Linked DNA regions of Homo sapiens: all the other regions are linked to region 3. Evidence: promoter capture Hi-C in 16 types of primary human blood cells and fetal thymus (Javierre and others, 2016). All regions are on one chromosome and are shown on one strand. Each heading gives the region's core, a stretch centred on a gene start or on the middle of the fragment in contact. The rest is flanking DNA. Distances are from core to core; before and after follow the strand shown. Region 1 has its middle 8.4 kb from the start of TTC32. Region 2 overlaps WDR35 (WD repeat domain 35). Region 3 holds the start of OSR1 (odd-skipped related transcription factor 1). Region 4 overlaps LOC105373456 (a long non-coding RNA gene). Region 5 overlaps LINC00954 (long intergenic non-protein coding RNA 954).

Region 1 (2,700 bases), core at 147-2,646, 540 kb after region 3:
CCATGATTCAATTACCTCCACCTGGTCTCTCCCTTGACATGTGGGGATTATGGGGATTACAATTCAAGATGAGATTTTGGGTGGGGACACAGCCAAACCATACCAAGGGTTTTTTGTTGTTTCTTCAGTAGTAGGGCCAAAATGTTTTTTGAAGTTAAGCACGATTCTTATAAGAATATAGAATGAAAATGTGAAAAATGTTTAACTCATTAATAGAGAACCGCCAGAGTGGTAAAAGAGCATTAGAATAACTGAGTACTTATGGTCCATGAAGAAAGAATTTGGGAATAAAGTTGCTAGGTTAAATACAAAACTGGTTAACGTTCTTCAGGGCAATACAGCCAAAACTTTTGGGGTTATCTTTTCTACCAGAGTTCATTTGCATCTCCTCTGGACAAAAATCTGCAAGTTACATGCAACCTCCCAGAGTCTGGGCCCTAATCAAGAGTAAATAGAAAATCAAAGAAAGGCACACACATGGCTCCCCAAAAGAATTAAACAGTCGTTGAGTGGGTCTGCTGGTATGATATTGAAATGCCATGCAAATCCTTTTGCCTTATTTCTACGTATTGGATGCTTTTTTTGACATAAGATAAAAATTTACATATTGGCAGCTGTAGCTATCTAGTTTCCAAATGGAGTTTGCTCTTAAAATTAATCTGCTTTTCACCATCTTTTGTGTCTGTTTTTAATAAGAAAAATGACCACCAAGCAATGTGGGCATTGCAATAACATTCCATTATTTAAAAACATACTTTAATATTATTCTGATACTCACTTTGCTGGGTACTAAAACATTTTATGAGCAATTTAAATTTTTTATCAGGACCAAAAAAAAAAAAAAAAGTCCACATATCTGCTGTGAGTTGATGCCAACAGCAAAAACATTGATACTCATTGCAGTTTCAAATATTTATATGGATTTTGGACACAACCTTGCACAAGTTACTCAATTTCTTAGCTTCATCCTCTATGCAGAATAAGACCTTCACTAAACTGCTATATTTATGATTTTGTGATGACACATATAAACCTGGGATTACACTGTTGTGTTCCTATTTTACTTTTATATCCACATTCATAATTTCAGTTTCGGGGCTTCCTTACAGGTTGCTTGTTTTATAATTTGTCTTGCTACATGACGTGTTCTTTTACCTTCTTGTGATTTTAAAAAGGATAAACTATGTGTTTTAATTGTATCAATTGCTTTGTTTTTTCAAAAACAGAAATTAGACTATACTCATCCTTCTTTCCTTTCTGTAGAGTGAAATGGTGTCATTTGAAGTCCCTTAACATTAGATTTGAAATTTAACAAATCTCACTCTCCCTCTTTTACCAACTGCCATTTTAAATTATGGGCATTCTGTTCTCACAATTTACTGTCACATTTTTTAGAAACACAGAAAACACCAAAATGTGAATTTATATAGAAATTGTTAAAATTACACACCTAGCGTAAATAGCAAATATTCAGTCAACTTTTCACTATGCTCTTGAAAAGCTATTACACATTTGTCAACAATTTGTTTAGCGTAGCAATATGTTAACCTAAACACACTAAATTCAGCATCCATTTCAGGCAGAGATGAGCCGTCTGATTTACTCAACACATTTCTAGTTAGAGAGCATCACATGAGACAAAGTGGAATCGTGCCACATATTTGAATGAAGCCAGAAGCAGCACTTTTTAGGACTCTTAGATCTGTTTTGTGCATGAGCTGTTGTTTTTGAAACACTCTCATGTTTAGTCATTAATTTGCATAAAATTTTTTCTGTGTTGTAACTTTAAGTGCAGTTTGCATGCAAGACCAGTATACCCAAAAACCTTGAAAAAATGGTGCAGCAACTCTGAATATACCTTCAAACCATTGAACTGTACACTTTAAATGGGTAAACTATATGATATATGAATTATTCTCAATAAAACAAAAAACTAGCACAGTAAACATTCATGCTCAGCCTAGACAATGTGGTGAAACCCTATCTCTACAAAATATACAAAAATTAGCTGGGCATGATGGCGCATGCCTATAGTCCAAGCTACTTAGGAGGCTGAGGTGGGAGGATCACCTGAGCCCAGGGAGGTCAAGGCTGCAGTGAGCTGTCATCAAGCTACTGCAATCCAGCCTGGGCAACAGAGTGAGACCCTGTCTCAAAAAAGAAAAAAAAAAAACATGCTATTACGGTTTATATACAAACTGTTTACTTCTGAGTTAAATTTTTAAGGGGGCTAGACTTAGCAGAAAGGGAGACATTGAGACAAGAATCAGTGTAAACGCTGAGTGGTAGGTGGGGTTGAAATATATCATGCCCACGGAGAAAGATTTAAGACCTACAAAATGACAGGGAGCCAAGGCTACATTTAGGATTCAGAGGGTAGAGAAGCCAGTGAAAAACAGAAAACCAAAAAAGACAGAGCAAAAGAGCAAATGACAGAGCAAAAGAGCAAATAGATAATGACTAAAGACTAACTTGGATATTTGCTTTGCTATCATAAAGTAAAGGGTTTTATTCAGTTCCAAATTTCAGAAAAAAACAAATAGCTCCACACTTTTCAACTACTGTTAGGAGTAATATTCTAAACTCAAAAGTAACTTAAATCCATTTTATCCTATCTTACCTCACTTTGTGAAAGAGAAACCTTATAACAAACCACAATTCTTTTGTTTTTACAAAGGAAAAAATTAGAAAACATAAGTT
Region 2 (2,700 bases), core at 9-2,508, 560 kb after region 3:
GTGACAATGTTTCAACAGAAGCTATAACTACAAAATGGATATTTCTGTTTAAGTTATCTTCATTATAAATAGAGGCAAGTTTTCTGCACAATCATATGAAAGTGTAAATTCCAAATGCCATCTCTTAAATGAGACTAAAAGGACAGGTTTTAAAATAGAAGAATAGGGCTATTAGAAACAATTCAGATTGTAAAAAATGTCTTAAAATGCCATCGCCTCACTTCTGAAAATACAATAAAGAAGACATTCGACACTTATTTAATTAAATATGGCTATAGAGAAAGCTCATTTCATTATTACAATTGTTTAACTTCCTTGTAACATGGGTTATAAAAATTCTCTAAATTCAACTTTGCCCCACTCCCATGCTTCCCCCACTCCCTACTCCCTTCAAGATTTTTTAATGAATTCAGTTACCTTGACACTGTGAGAAAAAAATTTATTTGGAATATTTCCATGGTATCATGTAACCAAAAACAAGATAAACAAAAGAGAGAGGGTGAGAGAAAACATGGTTGATTTTCATACATTTATATGAAAATCGGCCTTATTATTTCACAGTTGTATTGCCATAAAAATTATTTTATTAACATATATTTTGTGCAAAAATTCAACTATAAATAATGAGGCTGATTTTCATACAAAACTCACAGAAATAAACCTTATTACATATACAGCATATAGCCATGTATATATGCTACATATATTTTACAGTTATATACAGTTTATCATTCCTTTATCCCACTGGACTATGGCATAAGGGGCAGAAGCTGTAGTGGCTTATTTCCTGAGCAAGGACACCGTGTTTGCATACACTGCACATCCAGAATTGATACTCAGTGATTGGGCTTCCTGTGGCAACGCATGTTGGCAGTTTCCCTTCTCCACTGTAAAACGGGGAGAAACAATTCATTATACTTTAAAACTTCTCATTAGTCTAACTTTATTTAATACACTTAAAAAAAACCTAAAGAATAAAACTTCTGAGATGAACATCAAATACTTTCATTTAAAAAAGTTATTTCAAGAAAAAACCTTTCTTACAATGACAAAATAAAGCATGAATACACTTGTAAAAATAAATAAAATAGGGTATAATGTTAATGTGAATTGCTTCAAAATTCAGTGCTTTAATTCCTACATTAAACATTGTACATCTAGAAATCCAAGCTTCTAATAAGATAGAATGGCATCCACTAATTAAAATTAGCCTACCCTTCCATAAGGCTGTCCAATTCAGGTTTTCTGTTATCTTTTGAAGTATGTTTGGTGAAGATTTCTAAAGCAAGGTCTTCATACTGCTGTTTCTGTTCTGAACTGAGGGTCTCTAAAGATTTAAGTTTAATGAAAGCTTTTGAACAAGTCCCAAAGGCTCTGCTGGCGCATGCGCAGAGTGCTAGCAGAGAGTAGATCTCCACAGGAGGGATGATGTCTTCATAGTCTTTCAGGTGAAGAGCTAAGAAAAACAGGGCAATTGGGGTTTTTTAAAATAATTATTATGATATCATGAACATGCAAAAGAAGAATCTAAGTTAAGGTGATTTCATTGAACTTGCATGAACGAACTGAAAGCAAACAGTGTTGAGAGATGGGAGCACCAAGAGGAGGAACTAGGCTACATGATATCCAAGGTTCTGTGAAGCTGGCTAACAGCTCATCCTATGAAAAGAACCACCACCAAATGCTGCACATGGCTGTGCCAGCTCAGAAATACACACACACACACAAAATTTTGGTGTCAAAACATCCACATTTTCTTCAATTTATGTTAGAAATTTCTGTGGCACTTCATAAAAAGCAAATGAGTATTATACTATGTTAGTCATAAACTGCAAGATAATACCATGTTTCCTTTTGTTAAAAAAAAAGCAAAACAATATAAGCAAAACAGTATAAAATAATATGTTCTTTTCTCTGTGTTTCTTTGGACAGATTATTGCTTTTGTATTACTGCTTTTGTCATTTGTCTCACTGAAACAATAGGATTTTGTGAAAAAGTGAAAATGAGTCTCCAAGTTGTCAGTTGAGACAATTCAAGTTACAACATCTTATTTGCAATTATACTGGAGATGAAAAAATCTTTCTTTAAAATGCACTGTATTCTTGGGCCTGTTGGGGGTGGGGGGCTAGGGGAGGGATAGCATTAGGAGAAATACCTAATGTAGATGACGGTTGATGGGTGCAGCAAACCACCATGGCACATGTATACCTATGTAACAAGCCTGCACGTTCTGTACATGTACCCCAGAACTTAAAGTATAATAAAAAAAGCAGACTTAATATTAGATTTAATATTAAGATTTAATATTAGATTTATAACCAATTTGTATCTTTTTCTTCTCTAGACCTTGGAATCTTAAAAATACTTTGTTATAGTATATCAAAAACTTCATAAAACCAGTTTAAACAATATATTCATGTGTTTTACAATCAGAATCCTATAAACTGGTTCTGGGGTCAAGTATTTACAACAAAGTGTAGTAGAAAAAATGTATATAAAATGTAATCACTCAGTTACAATAAACAATATCCTCTAATTTCATATCCAAAGCATGATAGGTTCAAGGGTAATAATTTACAGGTCATACATTGTTTCAGATCGTCTTACCACTGACAAAAAAAAAAAAAATGAGGCATATAGAGATCTTCACCTAGTAGGTGAAGCATCTCAAGTTAAAGATCTAATTGTTCTTTTAAGTC
Region 3 (2,700 bases), core at 55-2,554:
AATGCGCAGCTCTTAGCCTGGGTGAAATTTACCAAATTGTGGCAACAAAGAAACCCTTGCGGCTACTTTACACATTGAGAACCCAACCCGCTACTGCCTGAGCTGCTGAAAAAGGACTAAACGTGGTTTTTCATTCTTCTCCGAGACATTTCCGAGGAGAAATTAGTTCAGCAGGCAGCCCTTCACCCCTTTCCCCCTTCTTTCTCTCCTGACGGCTGGATTAGCGGACAGTCAGGGGAGTAACAGAACTTTTCCTGTCCCCAGCCCGGAGACCCTAGGGCTCCACAGAGTTTCCACTAGTGCTGTGTGTGGGTCTCGAATTGGAAAGCAGTGCTTGCGCCCACTGCATTGCCTCCCTGCACCAGGACAATCAAGGGTTCCGCTCCAGGCCTTGACGACACAGAGCAATCATCCTATGGAGAATATCCCTAAGTTAGAGCGCGAGTGCAAGGCGGGGTTCAGACTCGCAGCCCTGCGCTCTCGGGTCTAGGCGGCCTCATACTAGAGCGCAACTCCTCAAAAGACAAACTTGAACGAAAGCGCTACCGAGCTGGGGCATGCACCTGTCCCTGGCGCGGTCGGCTGCGGCTGTGGCCATTCACTCCCTCTCCCTTCCTTCTTCGTCAACCTGGGCGTCAGCCAGAGCTAGGAGCGCGTCTCAGGAAAGTTTGTGCCCGCTGAAGTTGCTCTGGTTTCTTAAAGGGGGCCCACAGATTGACTTTCAAAGTCCGTGGGCACCTCGCCCGTGATTCCGCAGAGCCGGGCGGGCTGGCCGCAGTAGCGGAGGCCCGCCCCCCTTAATCCCCAGCGGTCAGAGGCCGAGGACCCCGCGCAGGAAGTCCTGAGGCAGCACCCCCAACCACCCTGCTCTCACTTTCACAAAAGTCCTACAGCATTCGTTTGGCAAGAGCTTCCTTCAGGGGCATTGAGAGAGAGGAGGCACCCGCCGAGCAGTGACAAGGAACCTGGGAGTCCTGCCCGCATTCGCTTTGCTGAGCCCAGGCGCCCAGGACTGCAATTACCTTGTTCCGCAGAGGTCCTGGGGCTGAGCACGTCTCTGGGGCTTTAGCTGAAGGGGACTGGGGAAGCCGGAGGCCCTGGAGCCCACAGGCGCCCCTGGAGCTCTAGTGTCCCGACTCCTCTCCTGCCGCGGGGACTCCAAGCGCCGGACACGCGGGAGCGAGCGCTCAGCAGCCCCGGATCCTGCACGCCGGGGACGGTGAGCCTCGCTCGCGGCTCCCTCGCTGGGTCTGAACCAGGAGCAGCTGAGAACGTGCCGGGGAGAGGCCGAGCTCCGACTCACTCATCCCTTAGCACCGAGCCGCCTACTTATTTTAATCCACCACCCTCCCTCCTCCACCACCCCCACCCCCGCCCCTTGCCTCAGGATTCCTCCCCTCCCTCCCCTGCCCCCCAACCCTGCCCTGCGCCTGCGCAATGAAAGACAAAGTTTTTGCTGACCCGGGCAGCAGACTTTGGCAGCTGCTCTCGCTTGGACCCGGCCTCTCCCAACCTGCGTCCCCTCCTCTTCAGTCCCGCGCGACCCCTGCTGCCTTTTTAGGTCCAGAGCGGCACGCCTGGCGCACTGGAGGAAACGGTCCCTAGCAGATGAGAGCGGGCTGGCACCGCACGTTTCGAGGTCCTATACTTGGGCTCCTAGGACACAGCCCGTGCTCTTTGGGAGGAGGGAGGGAGGGGCAGTAGCTCTGTGCACCGGGATCCCCACACCGCGGCTTGGGTTTCAACGCACTTTGGCGCCTGACAGAGTCGCATCTCCTCCCAGAATCTCTTTCCAGAGGCGGCAGACCCCGAGTGTGGAGCAGCTCCTGGCTATCCAAGCGTGCTCGGGGCCAGGGTGTTAACCCAGGCAGCGCTGGTTAATTCCTGGTGCGGGAGGGCCAGGGTCACCGAAGCAAGCGAGCTGTAACATCTGAGTGCTTATGGTTGACCCCAGACCCTAAGTTCTGGAGTCCAGTAGAAAGAACAAAGAGTAGGGAAAGGAGGTCAGGAAAGTTATTTTCCTGGGGCCCAGAACTCTCTGAGATTTCACCCCAATGCACAGTGGCACTCTCTACTTACATATTTGTTTTAGGATGGATCAGAGTTTAGAGAGCCGCACTGGCAAGCTAGACGAGCTGCAAAGTTGTCAGTTCCAGGGCCTCTGAGTCAAGGAGCTGGTTCAGGTGGAGTTTTTAATCGGAAAGGAATCAGAGTTCTGGACATTAAAAATTCTATCTTCATTGCCTAGGCATTATGGAGGGTACCATCACCCCCTTGACTACCCATCTCTGAAAGCTGACCTCCGGCTGACCCCAGCCCAATCCCTCCCTAATGCCTTTCTGGAATACCCTTCCAGGCCTTGGGTTTGGCAAGGAGGAGTCACTGGTTTCCTGGGACTTGTGTGGGTCCAGATCACACAACTGCACTCTCTGCCTTTGCCCCAGAGTTGCTGCTGAGTGACTCTTGGAGCTGGATCCTAGATTCCGTGGGTCCCTAAGTACTGTACTGCTTCTCTCCCGAGGAGCTTCTGCTATCTCCAGCTTTGGTTTGCAAAGCTAATCTGATTTTCTTGGGAGGTGAAGAAGGTTGTAATACCTGACCTAGGGAGATGGTAATGAAGACTCCCCTCCCTCAAAGGCATAGTTGAAAGAGGATTTCCTTATATCCCCAGGCCTTTAGAACAGAATCTAGCCTCTAACC
Region 4 (2,700 bases), core at 64-2,563, 620 kb before region 3:
ATTGGGCATAACATTCAGGGCATTGCATTGTCTTCTCATGTCCATATATACTAATGTGAAATGAGTCGTCTGTTTAATTGATATTTATGTGATGTGTTCGTGCTGTCTACTGGCTTTAAGGACTATTTTTCTTTGATGCTCATGGCTTCACTATAATATGTCTTTGTGTGAAGTTTATTTCATATTTATTCTTTTTCGAATTAATTGGGCTTCTTGGATCTGAGAACTGGTGTCCTTCGTGGGTCTGGATAATTGTCAAACATAATGTCATTAAATATTGGCTCATTTTCATTCTATTATCTCCTTCTAAAACTATAACTAAATAATTGTTGGCTTTCCCCACTCTCTGCTCTGGCTCTTAATTTCTTTTTCCTATTTTCTATCTCTTTGTCTTTCTGGGTCACATTTTTCACATTATCTTTTAAATCTATTTTCTAGGCCACTCAATGTTGTCTACTTTAATCTTCTATTTAACCTATCCAGTATGCTTTTAATTTCAACCGTTATAGCTCTTCATTTCTAATATTTTATTTGCTTCTTTAAAAAATATCCCTACAATTTAAAAATTACATTTATTTTTTGTTTATATTTTTATGCTTCTCTATTTCTTCAAAGTAAATAAAGTTGTATATTCTCTGGTCATGACAATATCTGATATATTCAGTAACCTGACTCTCCTGCATTTCATTCAAGGTGCCTTGTTTCTGTGTGTTTTTCTATTTTTCAGTGAGTTGCTCATTTTCCTTGGAACTTTATCTGTGGGAATTCTTTGAAACCTGGGTTGAATTACTATTCCTCTAGAAATGATTTGTGTTTGCTTCTGCCAGTTTCCTGGGGGGGCACTGCTGGCCTAGGACCACTTTAAATTAAATTGTCCATTTGAGATTTTTCAGACCTCACAGGTGGCATAAATTTGGATGGCAAACCTGTGAAGGGTCTGTGGAGGTTATAAAATCTCAGGATGAATTTTTCCCCTCCACTAGTGCCAATGCAGACTGTAAAGTTTCCCTGCTCTTCTATTCTTGGCAGTGGTTTATTTCTCATTCAACCTTCTACAAAGAGTATAGGCCAGTGGGATTTCAACTTCATGCATGGGTCTCCTGTTAGACTCCCCACCTGGGGCAAGCCTGGCCATTTTGCCCTGTCCCCTGAATGCTATGCAGTTTTTATGATGCAAAACTCTTTGTGTCTTGGACGTTGGAACACATTTGTCTTCCTTCTTCCTTTCCTTCAGATGCCTAGTTGCTGTGGTCTGAAGGTTTATGTTTCCTCCAAATTCATTTGTTGAAATCTCAACCCCCAAACTGATGGTGTGGTATAAGGAGGTGGAGCCTTTCGGGGGTGATTAGGTCATAAGGGTGGAGTCCTAATGAATGGGGTTAGTGCCTTTGGAAAGAAGCCCCAGAGAGATCCCTCACTCCTTCTTCCATGTGAGATTATAGTGAAAAGATGGCCATCTAGGAAGAAGGGCTTCACCAGACACCAAACTGACCAAATCCCTTGATCTCAGGCTTCCATCCTCTAGAACTGTGAGAAATACAATTCTGTTGTTTACATGTCAGCCAGTATATGGTATTTTGTTACAGAGGTTCGAACAGACTAAGATGCTTTGGAGACCCAAGGAGGCATTTGAGGAAGGTCTATTGTATGGTGAGAACACTTAGATACCTTCTACCTATTCCATGTCACCCCACACTGCTTTACATTTCTGGTCTAAGATTTTCATGGGAACATTACAAGGTGATGAAATCCATTTCAGTCTGTTCTCAACTAAATCGCAATTATCAGGAAAATAGGGGCAATGCCTTAAGTATAATATGTTTTGCCAACACCTCCCTGCACAGTTCATAGCTTGTTATTTCCACGTAGTACCTTTTTATTACATGTCCAAAAGGACATTTAAAATGATTAACATTTACACTAACATTATTACTCATCTATCTGTTAAGATGTGGAAATAAATAAACAGAAATATTGAATTTATCTAACAACTGGTTAGTACTAGCTTGATCGTTTCTGTATTTGGGTACCTACAAACTCCCTGCAGAGACATCAAATTCAGTTTCACAACTATGTTTCAGAATGTTATACTCACCAGAGTTAAACTTCCCTCTCTGATTTTCTATTCTCAGCCATCCACCCAAACCGTAGATGGAATCAAAACTAGATAATCAAGTGGAAGAGATTGAAGATGTGTGTTCTGAGAATGTTCCCAGAGCATTCCCTGTGGTTGAGATCCACAGATATCGTTCATAACCTCATCATGCTGGGAGGGTGGTGGAGGCCCTCCTCAGGGCAGAAATTGAAGCCCAGAAAAAGGGTTGTGGTCAGTTCCAGCACAATTCTTTATCATGCTGAGGTCAGGCCAGTCAGGTCCTCCATAAGTCATGGGTTAGGCATGCGCTTTGGACCCAGGCCGCCCTCCAGCTGTCTCAAGAAGCCCGCTGGCTGGGCCCTCTGTCACTTTTCTCCAGCAGGCAGTCCACCAGGCCCCTCCTGCGCTGCTCATTCTTCTGCAGCTTGATGTCAGGTCCCGATGGATGGCTTGAACCCTGTGTTGACCCACTATATATCCGAACTCCCCCTTCCTCTATCCTGACAACATTTTACCACCACCAAATTTCTCAGGGTGAGTGCCAAAATAATTCTAGATGTAAAGAAACAACATTTTGGAATCATTGTAAATTTATCTCTGGTGAT
Region 5 (2,700 bases), core at 108-2,607, 520 kb after region 3:
CATGCCACTGCACTCCAGCCTGGGCAACAGAGCAAGACTCCGTCTCCAAGAAAAAAAGAAAAAAAAAAACTATTATTCAGACTCTAATGTGATTGAATAACTTTCGGTCCTGAGGAGAGACAACAGTAGTAAGGATTCTTTTGACCTCCATGAGCCTATAATCTACACAAAGAAGATTGTGGTTAGCCCTCACATGCGAGCTTATTTTTTTGTGTTCAGCCGCTACTTAAGCCAACATACAAAGGGACAAAGCTGGATAAATTGCACTCTTACCTGGGATGGTGAGGCTAGTATGTTAGTGGTTATTTGCATAAGGAATGGCTGGCAATTTTTGACTGATGCTGCTGGGTTGCCCTCGGGTTTATGAATGGGCTTATGTTCTCAAAATGGCCCTCGCTGATCACATCCTTCCTGTGGTTCCTCACTCGGCCTTGTTCCTGAGTTACTGGCTAAAGAAGGATTGACTCTAAGAGACAAGAGCATCTTTGGGGGGAAAGGGGAGAAGATTATCAAAGGACACAGACACCCCTAGTCCTTTCTAGTCCCCTCACAGGAAAGAGAAAACAGGATGCTCTTAGCTCTGAGGACTTAATTAAGGGAGACTGGGAGAGTCTGTTGCCGGTAAACCACAGGCTGTAATAGATGAGAACTTCCAACAGACACGGTCCCTGGGACAAGACTCTTCAACATCACCTTTGGAGCTGTCTTCCCTGGTGACCAGTTGGTGGCAATGGGGATCAGAACTGTGCCCTATCCTATTTCAGAAGTGGATGAACCTGGGTATAAGGTTTGGGAAATTTCCCTCCCAGATGGAACACAAAGGTTTGTGCTTGAAGTGTCCTTGATGACACAGAAGTGATTAAAGAGGTCAGCCAGTGCTCATGTCCAGGTAAGAAGCTGTCAGTTTGGACAGATCCTCTGCCCAGCAGATAGCTTACCAGATAGTGTTACCTGCTGGGCAGGTAACATACTTCATAGGCAGAGCTCTCACCCACCCCACCCTCACAGGTCATTAAATTACATGAGCACGTCTTGTCTAATCTAGCTTGGCAGGCTGGAGCAGTTTGAAACACTGTAATGGAGAGACCAGTAGCCACTCGAGTACGTGACAGAGTGGACATCCTCATTGGATTGAGGTCTCAAGCCCCCCATCAGGTGGTGGGCACACAAGGACAGGGCCTACTCTGCTATGCTGTCCAGCCTGAGCAGATGCTGTAAGGGGGCAGGAGGCTGTCCTAGGGTCACTACCCAGAAGTGGCTTCGTAAATTCAGGCAGCCTTTTGCTCAGCATGGCTCTAAGCTATGGTCAACCTGAAATAATTGAAAGGATCAGAATCCAGTTTTAAAGAGTTTATTCAAGCAAAAAGCTGGGAATGACCATACAGGAAACAGACTTCAGAGAAATGGAATAAGTGCTCCGAAGTTAAAAGTTAAGGTCTTGCTTATATAGGCAGAAAATAAAGAAATTCAGTAGGATTTTATCATTTTCTATACAAGGCTGTTTTATGAGTTACAATTTAGTTTGTTTTCTTTTCCATAAAGTTTGTTTTCTTTACAGCTTGTTTTCATTTCCTTTCCAATTTAAGAGTAGTTAACATTCCATCTTAGACAATCCCATAGCCATGAAGACTTTGTGTGGAAGAGGAAAGAGGGAAGTTAATCTATACTGAATATCAACAGTTAAGAGGGAAGGGGTCTTCCCTGGCACCCTTTAGTCATTTACAACATTTTACAAAACATGTAGGTAAGAAAAATGACCAATCTGTAATCAGAAACAAAGGTTACAGCTGCATGTTTATGTGACTCAGGTCCTATAATCACATTCCCTTAAGGCTCAAAATGTTTTGAGGTTCTAACAGCTTAGATTTTGAATTACTTTACTCTATCCATCACTTGCAGACTGTTCCTGTGATGTCTTCTAGTACATGAACAGGAATGAAACCCACTATGTCCTCCATGTGAACTACATGCTGAGCGTGGGTCCAGATGGGAAACCATTCTCCTACCCTGCAGAAATGGTATATAGTTTCAAGGATGTGGGTAAGTACACCAAGTGAGGTGCTGGTCCTGGACTCATGGATGGTCTTGGTACCCAACAAGTTACACTGGCTCTGTCCAAACAACAGCTGTGGAAGCCCCTCCCATGGGAGGGGGGTCCCACTGGGGCTACACAGAAGTAACTCCTCACAAGTGGCTTGTCTGCATCCTGGGATTGGAAACCCAGTATAGAAGCAGCTGTTGGCAGACTCATGAAGTAATACAGAGAATGGGTGGCTGCTCATACAATCAGCAGTAAGACTTCACTTAAATCATGCCAGGAATGACATGAACAGGACTCAACGTACCCCATACAGTCTTCCCTCCCAGGTGCCACCACCCCTGAAATATTAACCTTGGTAGACTTCTCCTGTCAAGGTCACAGTAAGGGTAGCCAGTGGTATCAAGACCTTGGTATAAATCAGACATGGCCTTCTTCCCAGCAAGGTCATTAGGTACCCAATGTAGAGATAGCAGGGAAAGGATATAAAAACAGGAAAGTTCCAGGTGAGTCATCTTTTGCCCCTTGACTAGGCCTGCCTATAGGTTTGACAGCTCCAGGAAGTAAGAAAACAGGTATATTGTCTTCCTTCCTATAGCTCTGCTAGGTGTCATCCTCTTAAGGTCACTAGGATTCTAGTGTTGAAGGCTTGCTGCCACACA

The links. The method cuts DNA at HindIII sites, captures the fragments that hold promoters and counts their contacts. A CHiCAGO score of 5 or more calls a contact.
Region 1: a contact is called between a fragment that was not itself captured here and the fragment with the promoter of OSR1 in region 3, in 9 of 17 cell types (total CD8 T cells, total CD4 T cells, neutrophils and 6 more). The highest score is 8.5, in total CD8 T cells.
Region 2: a fragment that was not itself captured here is called in contact with the fragment with the promoter of OSR1 in region 3 in 8 of 17 cell types (total CD8 T cells, naive CD8 T cells, activated CD4 T cells and 5 more); the score reaches 10.3 in total CD8 T cells.
Region 4: a fragment that was not itself captured here is called in contact with the fragment with the promoter of OSR1 in region 3 in 2 of 17 cell types (endothelial precursors and M2 macrophages); the score reaches 7.7 in endothelial precursors.
Region 5: a contact is called between a fragment that was not itself captured here and the fragment with the promoter of OSR1 in region 3, in 4 of 17 cell types (naive CD8 T cells, total CD8 T cells, M1 macrophages and 1 more). The highest score is 6.8, in naive CD8 T cells.

What each region holds. Positions count from the first base shown.
Region 1 is chr2:19,892,231-19,894,930 of GRCh38, forward strand. No RefSeq gene overlaps it. Among named protein-coding and RNA genes, the nearest start is that of TTC32, 8.4 kb to the right of the region's middle. The HindIII fragment of the contact is 3,471 bases long and covers 1-2,700 here.
Region 2 is chr2:19,912,822-19,915,521 of GRCh38, forward strand. It overlaps WDR35 (WD repeat domain 35), which reads right to left. Exons shown (of 27, transcript NM_020779.4): 26 at 1,216-1,456; 27 at 1-887. The coding sequence ends at 737. Among named protein-coding and RNA genes, the nearest start is that of TTC32, 12 kb to the left of the region's middle. The HindIII fragment of the contact is 181 bases long and covers 1,169-1,349 here.
Region 3 is chr2:19,357,319-19,360,018 of GRCh38, forward strand. It overlaps OSR1 (odd-skipped related transcription factor 1), which reads right to left and starts at 1,305. Exons shown (of 3, transcript NM_145260.3): 1 at 1,023-1,305. RefSeq lists an enhancer at 649-1,177. The HindIII fragment of the contact is 8,359 bases long and covers 1-2,700 here.
Region 4 is chr2:18,738,278-18,740,977 of GRCh38, forward strand. The region is part of intron 4 of LOC105373456 (a long non-coding RNA gene); the gene reads left to right. Among named protein-coding and RNA genes, the nearest start is that of NT5C1B-RDH14, 150 kb to the left of the region's middle. The HindIII fragment of the contact is 3,221 bases long and covers 1-2,700 here.
Region 5 is chr2:19,873,904-19,876,603 of GRCh38, forward strand. It overlaps LINC00954 (long intergenic non-protein coding RNA 954), which reads left to right. Exons shown (of 10, transcript NR_033875.1): 6 at 1,900-2,040. Among named protein-coding and RNA genes, the nearest start is that of LINC00954, 6.4 kb to the left of the region's middle. The HindIII fragment of the contact is 3,355 bases long and covers 1-2,700 here.